Regions from separate parts of the Homo sapiens genome. Here region 2 is linked to region 1. Evidence: promoter capture Hi-C in human tissues and cell types (Jung and others, 2019). All regions are on one chromosome and are shown on one strand. The core of a region is centred on a gene start or on the middle of the fragment in contact, and the rest is flanking DNA. Distances in the headings are between cores, read along the strand shown. Region 1 holds the start of NUDT1 (nudix hydrolase 1). Region 2 overlaps SDK1 (sidekick cell adhesion molecule 1).

Region 1 (4,814 bases), core at 798-3,297:
GCCACTGCACTCCAGCCTGGGCGACAGAGCGAGACTCTGTCTCAAACAATAACTAAATACATCAATTAATTAATTAAAGTAATATTATTTTCTCATCTGGCAAAAATGTTCATTGGGCTCTGACAGGCTGCAAGAAAACCTCATAAGGACAGATCCTTGCCTTAGTGACCTAGTTCCAGGGCTTTGACAGCTAGTACAGAGGGTCTGGCCTGTCACATTTCTTTTTTTCTTCTTTTTTTCGAGACAGGGTCTCGCTCTATAGCCCAGGCTGGAGTGCAGTGGTGAGGTCACGGTTCAACGCAGATTCGAACTCCTGGGCTCAAACAATCCTCTCACCTACATGTCTTAAATAAAATTGAACTAAACCTGTGTCAATCGTTGAAGGACAATTTCCAAGATTCTCTAGACAATTGTTACAATAAATGTAACAATTTATTCACAGCCCACAATAGCTAAGCAGGTGGAAGCTATACACACCTCCCCTTGTTTAACTCTGACAACAACCTCACCAAGGAAGTTCTATGTCCTCTTTTTCTTTTTTTAAGACGGAGTCTCACTCTGGCGCCCAGGCTGGAGTGCAGTGACAGCTCACTGCAGCCTCCGACTCCCGGGTTCAAGCAATTCTCCTGCCCCAGCCTCCCAAGTAGCTGGGATTACAGGCACACCTGCTACCATGTCCGGCTAATGTTTGTATTTTCAGTATAGATGGGTTCCACCATGTTGGCCAGGCTGGTCTCAAACTCCTGACCTCCGCTGATCTGCCCGCCTTGGCCTCCCAAAGTGCTGGGATTACAGGTGTAAGCCACTGCACCCAGGCATTTCTTTCTTCTTTTTGTTTTTTTAGAGACAGGGTTTTACTATTACCCAGGCTGGAGTGCAGTGGCATGATCACAGCTGACTGCAGCCACAGCCTCTGGGGCTCAAGTGAACCTCCCACCTCAGCCTCCTGAGTAGCTGAGACTACAGGTGTGTGCCACCACTTCCGGCTAATTTTTCTATTTTCAGTAGAGATGGGATTTCACCATGTTGGCCGAGCTGGTCTCGAACTCCTGACCTCTGGCGATCAGCCCACCTTGGCCTCCCAAAGTGCTGGGATTACAGGCGTGAACCACCTCACCCGGCCATTTTTGTTTTGCTATCATCCAGGCTGGAGTTGCAGTGGCACAATCACAGCTGATTGCTGCCATAACCTCTGGGTCTCAAGTGAACCTCCCACCTCAGCCTCCTGAGTAGCTGGGACTACAGGTGTGCACCACCATGCCTGGGCTAATTTTTTTTTTTTTTTTAATTCTTAAAAACCTTTTTTAGAGATGGCATCTCACTACATTGCCTAGGCTGGTCTCGAACTCCTAGGCTCAAACGATCCTCCTGCCTCAGACTTCCAAAGTGCTGGGATGACAGGTGTGGGCCACCAAGCCCGGTCTCTATGTCCATCTTTCTGATTTAAATAAATAAATAAAAGTTACCACCCTCATGGCTCCAAGGCCAAAGCTTCTAGCTTCTGCAACACCAAAGCGTGCTGACAAGCCAGGAGGCACTGACTGCTGACCGTGAGTCGCTGTCTTCCCCTCGCTTAAGGGGTCTCCCGGGAAAATGGCACAAGCCGGTCCCGGGGGCCAGGGCCCACTCGACAGCCCAGGAAGCGCGGGCAATGGAGCTACCCGGCCCAGAAGCGAAATCCCGCCCCGGGCTCGCCCCCGGCGCCTTGGATCTGGGCCCCGGCGCTGCGCCCCCCACCTGGACTCCGCCGCCGGCCCCGGCCTCCCCACGGCCCCGCCGGCCCTGCCCCTGGAGACCTGAGGGCGCCCTCCTCCCGGGGAACTGCGACCCGGAATCCTGGCCTCGCCCCTGTCGCGCTCGCTGAGTGCGGGGACGGTGCCCAGCGCTCGGCACCCAGCCCCGAGGCCAGGACCGAGGAAGGCGACCGGGCGGACCCCCAACCACTCCCGCTGTCTGCACGCGCAGCAGCAGCGCCCAGCTCACCCCGCCATTGGTGTTCCCCGCGCCTGCAGCGCGCCGCCGGAAGTGCCTGGCCTCACTTCCGGTCAGAGGCCACGCCCCCGGAAGCGGCGGTGCAGGTACGAAAAGCGCGCGCGGGGATTCCAGGAGTCGTGGTGACCAGGGAGGGGAGCCGGGCCAGCGGGCGGCAGGAGACTAGGGGAGCTGAGCCATGGGCTTGGGGGAGAGCGGGGCCGGGAGCTCGAAGGAGACCAGAAGAGCAGGGTCGGGGGCTCGAGGGAGACGAGGAGAGCGGGGCCGGGGGTTTGGGAGAGAGACAAGGAGAGCGGGGCGGAGGCTTGGGGGAGACCAGGAGTAAATCACAAAAATTTACTTTGGAAACCGTGGCTTCTGGCAGAAACAGATCAGTGTCGGGACAAAGTACACGGGCCTGGTGTGAAACTAAGCCACAAACCCATTTACCCTGTCTGACCTGCCTCCGCCACCAGGACCCAGTCTCAGTGAAATGGGAAAGGTTCCCTTGTCCTCCTCGAAGGGCGTGCGATGAGGATGTGGCTCACTTCTTCAGTGCCCCGCTTCTCAAGCCTCTAGGGGAACATACAGACAGGCAGGCTGAGGGGCTCCCACCCCACGGCAGTGTCTAGGGGTGAATGTTTGCAGCTCCTGAAGCCCCAGCAGGCATGTGTTAGAGGGTGCTCTTTCAGTTTAGCCTTGTAGGTGGCTTGTGTTAGTCAGCTGTTAGACTCCCTGCCTTATCGCAAGGACAGAGGGCTTTCTGTATCCCTAGGTTTCTTGCCTTGATGTACTGGAGCAATCAGATCACACGGCGGCTTGGAGAGTGAGTGCAAGGTTTTATGAGTGGAATTAGCCCTCAGCAGATGGGGGAGCCAGAAGGCAGTTGGAGTGGGAAGGTGATTTTCCCCTGGAGTCGGGCTGCTGAGCAGCCTGGGCTCTCCTCTGACCGCCCCTGCCAAACTCATGGTTCCATCAGTTGATGGCCTGCTGGTGCCTGTTGGTGTGCTTTCCACGTCCTCTTGACGTCCAGCGGCTTGTGTCTCTGCCCACTATAAAAAACCACTGGGGTTTTTTTATAGGCACAGGACGGGGACGTGGCGGGCTCGGGAAATGCAACATTTGGGCAAAAAAACAGAAATGCCTGTCCTCACCCAGGTCCCTGGGCACAGGCCTGGGTGTGGAGCCCTGGCCAGAGACCACGCCCTCCTCTACCCAGCACTTCCCTGCCCCCTTCCTTATCATCTGGTCCCTTTTCTCAGACACCACAACTTCCAAGAAGGATCACTGGTCCTGAACCCTGTGTCTTGTCCAGGTGTGGACCCCAGAAAAGTTGGTCCTGGCTGGGCGCAGTGGCTCACGCCTGTAATCTCAGCACTTTGGGAGGCTGAGGTGGGTGGATCGCTTGAGCTCAGGAGTTCGTGACCAGCCTGGGCAACGTGACAAAACCCCATCTCTACTAAAAATACAGAAATTAGCTGGGTGTGGCGGCTCATGCCTGTGGTCCCAGCTATGTGGGATGCTGAGGCAGGAGGATGGCTTCAGCCAGGGAGGCGGAGGTTACAGTGAACCGCGATCACGCCACTCTCCTCCAGCCTGGGCAACAGAGCAGGATCTTGTCTCAAAATAAATAAAGGAAAGTTGGTCCTGGCCCTCCAGCATTTCTCCAGGGTCCTTTTTTCAGCAGGGACCTGGCGGAGGCATCGCCCTCAGAGTCCTCTGGACCTGGACCTGCACACCTATGGGAGCAGGAAGGACCCTTGTGACTTCCAGTGGCCCCCCTGGGTGCCAGGTCCCACAGTAGCCACAGCAGGAGCAGAGTGGGTGGGGTATAAACTCCTATCACAGGAGGGAGGACTAGCCGGGCCTGGCTGGGTGGACCTGTGTCTACAGCCACACATTTCCTGGGAATCTGGAAGCCTGCTACAGAGAGGCCAGGTCCCACTAGACTGAAAGAAGTTCCTGTTAATCCAAAGGCCTGACCTGAGGACCACAGGATAAACTGCGTGGTTATTTTGGTGCCAATCAGGCACGGGGACTGTTGTTCCTCACTGTGTGCCTATAAGCAGGGGGTTCCTGGGGGTAGACGCAGGAGCAAGAGCACGCTCTGGAAAGGTGATGTTGTCCTCTGCACCTGAGTACTGACTTGTGGAGAAGGAAGGTAGCGCCGGCCTCTGCTCTGCTTGATCAGCCCTGCTGACCACTGGGTTCTGTTTCTACCCCAGAAAATCACTGGTTCAATGGCAGTTTTCCACCTGCCACAAGGGAAGCCACACGTGGCAGGGCTGGGGAGTTACAGCATACCCCCCCGCCCCCCACTGCCTCCCAGAGCACGTCCCCTTCCTCCTGGCCCCTGGCACGTGCTTCCTCCACGCACGTCATGGCTGACTCTGCCCTCTCACCTTCCTTTCAGAACCCAGGGACCATGGGCGCCTCCAGGCTCTATACCCTGGTGCTGGTCCTGCAGCCTCAGCGAGTTCTCCTGGGCATGAAAAAGCGAGGCTTCGGGGCCGGCCGGTGGAATGGCTTTGGGGGCAAAGTGCAAGAAGGAGAGACCATCGAGGATGGGGCTAGGAGGTAAGGATGGGGCAGGTCTGGCCATAGAACCGGCTTTCCCAGGGCACAGGGATTCGGGCTGTAGGGCCACACCCTTGGTTTCACCACTAAGAGCTAAGTGACCTGGAGCAGGGGGTTAAGCGTGAGCCTCAGTGTCTTCATCTCAGAATGAAGAACAGTCCGCAGCCCTTCGGACTCTTGTGAAGATAAAATGAGGAAATGAACTCGAAGGACTTAGAACGGTGCGCGGTGTGCGGTGCGTGCTGAGTGCGTGTTAGCTGTTGTGG
Region 2 (4,363 bases), core at 843-3,342, 1.2 Mb after region 1:
GATGACCACCAGAGGGCCTCCCACAGGTCTTCCCTGCACATTCCTGCTATCCTACTGGGGAGGTCCAAAACAACCTCCAGCAAACAATTCAACGTGGTCTTCAAGTAGTTGTGTACCCAGGCAACTGGCAAAAACAAATACAACTCCTCTCTGGAGGAAAGCAGCTTCCACCCAATATTCAAGGCATTACTGAAGGCAACAAAACAGGAAAACAGGTAAAGGATTCTCAGGCAACTCACAGGACATAAAATGTACATCTTGATTACGAAATAATCTGTGTAATAAGCTTAGAAAATTGCCTGACACGTAATAAGTGCTAAGTAAACGTTAGCTATGATGATGCTGGTGACAACAATGATGATTTCAAGTCTTTTTAATTCTCTCCTATTAATTGATTTCTCTTGCTTTGTTAAAATCACACCAGTTTAATTAACACTTGTCATATTGTAAACTTTTTAAAATGTTCAAATTTTTTCATTGTTCTTTTTAGAAGTTTTCTTACATATTTTATGTGAGTTTTAGGATTGGCTTGTCAAGTTCCTGAAAAATCATGTTTGAATTTTGATGAGGATAGGGGTTACCTTTATAGATTACTTTGTTAAAAACTGACATCTTTACAGTATTGAGTCCTAGCATTTCTGAATAGAGTATATCTTTTAGTTTATTCAGGCTTCTTTTATGTCCTTTAGTCAAGTTTTATAGTTGTCTTCATAAAGATCTTGCCACCTTTTTTTAGTTTTATACCCACTTTTCCATTTATGTTGCTCTTTCCTATTAAATGCTTAAATTGGCTATATTGAAGATGTAAGAAGGCTGTTGAGTTTTGTGTTCACCTTGTATGTTTTGCGCTTGCCAAAATCCCTTACTTTTTCTGATTGCCTCTGATTTTCTAGGTGAATAATCATATTGTTTGTAAATTGTGATAATCATTTCCTTGTGAATATTTCTGTCTCTAAATTTTTATCTTATTGCAATCCCTGCACCACTACAATGCGGGATTTTAACAAGTGGAACAGATATCCTTGTTTTCTTCTTCATTTTAATGGATGCTTCTAATATTTTACCATTAAATGTAATATTTTCTCTAAATTTTTGATATATACCTTTTATCAGAATTTGCTAAGCATTTTTGTTAGGAATGGGTGTTCAGTACTATTAGATGATATTTATTTCAGTCTCTGATAGTTACATGATGTTTCTCCTTTAATACATGACTATAGTAAATTCATTGGAACATTTCTTTTTTCTCCTCTTTATCATTAAAATGTTTATATATACGTTGGATAAGCTCTACATGGCCATAATACTTGTCTAACATTTTAAAATTTATTTTTAGTTTTTAACTAATACATAATAGTTGGACATATTTATGGGGTACATGTGATATTTTGATATACGCATATGATGTGTAATAAATCAGGGTAATTGGGATATCTGTCACCTCAAACATTTATCATTTCTGTGTGTTGGGGATACTCCAAATATTCTCTTGCAGCTATTTAAGAAATGCCTTACTTCAGTATATGTGAGGGGTTGATTCCAGGGTCCCCTGTATAACCAAAATCGAAGCATGCTCCAGTCCACAGGTGGCCCTGCCAAACCCACGGATACAAAATTTCACCTTCTGTATCCATGAATTCACATCCCTCCAATACTGTACAGTTTTGTAGGATTTGAACTGCATGGGTCCATGTATACACACATTTTTTTTCAACCAAACATAGATCGAAAATACATATTCACTGGATGCGAAACCTACATATATGGGGGCTGACTTGTTGAATATGAGGTTCCACAAGGCCGACTTCGGGACATGAGTGTGTGAGGATTTCGGTAAACATGAGGGTCCTGGAACTAGTTCCCCATGTAGACCGAGGAACGGCTATATTTTCAGTTTGGTTGGAAAAATATCCTTGTATAAGTGGATCCTGGCAGTTCAAACCAGAGTTGTTCAAGGATTAACTGTACAATAGTTAACTATGGTCTCCTGCCAGTGCTGTTGAACACTAGAACTTATTCCTTTCCTCTAACTGTGGTTTTGTATCCATAACCAACCTCGCCTCACACTTTCCTCTCCCCTGCCCTTCCTAGCCTCTGGGAAACACTGTTGCACTCACTACCTCCACAAGATCGGTTTTTTTTAGCTCCCACATAGGAGTGAGAACATGGGATATTTGTCTTTCTGGGCCTGACTTTCGCTTAATGTCCTCCAGTTATAAACGTGTTGCTGCAAATGACAGCATTTCATTTTTTCAGTGGCTGAATAGTATTCCTTTGTGGAAGCATAACATATTTTGTTTGTTCATTCATCTGTTGATGAGCATTTAGCTTGATTCCATATCTTGGCTATTGTGAATGGAGCTGTAGTAAACGTGGGACTGCAGGTCATCTGTTTGATAGACTAATTTCCTTTCTTTTGGGTATATACCCAGCAGCGGAATTGCTAGATCATATGGCAGTTCTATTTTCCATTTCTGGAGGACCCTCCATACTGTTTTCCATAATAGTTCTGCCAATTTACATTCTCACCAAGACCGTATGAACATTCTTTTTCTCTGCATCCTAGCCAGCATTTGTTATTTTCTGTCTTTTTGATAATAGCTATCATATCTGGGGTGAGATGAAATCTCACTGTGGTTTTGATTTGCGTTTCTTAATGACTAGTGATATTGAGCATTTTTTCCCTAGACGTGGTGGCCATTTGCAGGTCTTCTTTTGAGAAATGTCTCTTCAGATACTTTGCCCATTTAAAAATCAGATTATTTGCTTATTTGCGATTGAGTTGTTTGAGTTCAGTGCTGGGTTCCACCGTGGCAGGGCTAACACCTAGTTCCAATGCCAAGTCCCACACTCACTTTGCTTTCCCTACCCCAAGCATAGGTGTTTTCCCTCCAGGCTGTGCTGCCTGGGGATGAGGTACCAGGGTGTAGGTAATGTGAGACTGTCTTCCCTACCCCTTTAAATGCATCTTTTCTTGTTAAGCTAAAACCAGGTCCTGTCATCTCCCATCTGATTTTTAGCTGTTATGAAAATGCTTTCTTGTATGGATAGTTGTTCATTTTGATGTTTGTGCTGAGGGGATGATCTTTGGAGGGTTTTTTTTTTTTTTTTTTTTTTGAGCCATCTTGCTCCACCTTTCTCTCTGGTAATTTTTAAACTTTATTTAAAAATGTTCCATCTATATTCATAAGTGCTATTCCCACGTAAGTGTGTTTTCTTATTATATTTATGAATCCAACTATGGTGGCTTTCTAAAACATCTTAGGTTTTTAAAAAATCTTATTCTTTGTCCCGTTAGGACAGTTTATATAATATTGGTTTTATCTATTTTTTGAAGATTTGAAAAACTCTTCATTAAAACCATCTATGCCTAGTGCTTTTAGGACACTATTAGGACAGTTTATATAATATTGGACAGTTTATATAATATTGGTTTTATCTATTTTTTGAAGATCTGAAAAACTCTTCATTAAAATCATCTATGCTTAGTGCTTTTTTCCCCCCTGAGTTAAATTATTACCTGTAATTTTGATTTCTTCTATGGTTATTTGGTCTTTTGTTTTCTTTTTTCTTATGAAAATTTTAGAACATTCTTCTAGTATCTGTTTTGCTTAGCTTTTAATGTTAATTAAAATTATATGGAGTTAAATTTTAAATCTTTAATATCTGAGGTTGTTTTCTTTTCCATTTCTATTGTACTTTATTTGGATCTTCTTTCTTTTTTCTTAGTTAGACTTGGCAAAACTTAGCCAGTTTTATGGGTCATTTCAAAGAACCTGGGTTTCAAATGTGCTGGTATTTTTGTTTGGTTTTCTAATTCATTTCTTTTTTTATGTCTAATAATTTATTCTACTTTCCTGTTTGGTTTTGTTTTTACCCCCCTAATTTTGTAAGTTATAAACTAAGTTTACTTATTTTCAATCTCTTGTGTTTTCTGGTAAATGCATTTTATGCTATGATTTTTTCTGACCCTGCTGTGGCTGTTTCCCAGTCTTTATTTTGTGCGCTTTATTTGTTATGTATGTATGATGAAAATGGAAATTTTTCTTCAGTTTTTTTTTCTTCATCCCAAAGCACAAGTAAGGCGTTAAATTTCAATAGGTAGATAGATGTAGAGATAGTAGATTTTTAGCCACGTTTTAATTTTATCCTATTACATTTATTTTAAAAGATTTGGAAGACTTGTATTTTTTTAATTTGTAAATATATCCTTTTGTCCTAAAACTTAGATAATTTTTGTGAACATTCCACATGTTTGATAAGAGGGTGCATTACTCTCTGCCTCTCTTAACTGTCTTATTCTCTACCAGTTTATCTTATATAAATATTAAAACTATTATTACATGTGTAAAGGTTATATTTG

The links. Contacts are between HindIII fragments. The study calls those that stand out against the background at their distance.
Region 2: a contact is called between a fragment that was not itself captured here and the fragment with the promoter of NUDT1 in region 1, in 1 of the 25 tissues and cell types used here (mesenchymal stem cells).

The regions. Positions count from the first base shown.
Region 1 is chr7:2,240,179-2,244,992 of GRCh38, forward strand. NUDT1 (nudix hydrolase 1) reads left to right here and starts at 2,048. Exons shown (of 4, transcript NM_002452.4): 1 at 2,048-2,078; 2 at 4,385-4,548. The coding sequence starts at 4,397. MRM2 (mitochondrial rRNA methyltransferase 2) reads right to left here and starts at 2,027. Exons shown (of 3, transcript NM_013393.3): 1 at 1,984-2,027. The coding sequence starts at 1,991. RefSeq lists an enhancer at 560-1,411 and a silencer at 1,734-1,953. The HindIII fragment of the contact is 10,120 bases long and covers 1-4,814 here.
Region 2 is chr7:3,482,589-3,486,951 of GRCh38, forward strand. All of the region lies in intron 1 of SDK1 (sidekick cell adhesion molecule 1), which reads left to right. Among named protein-coding and RNA genes, the nearest start is that of SDK1-AS1, 130 kb to the left of the region's middle. The HindIII fragment of the contact is 8,636 bases long and covers 1-4,363 here.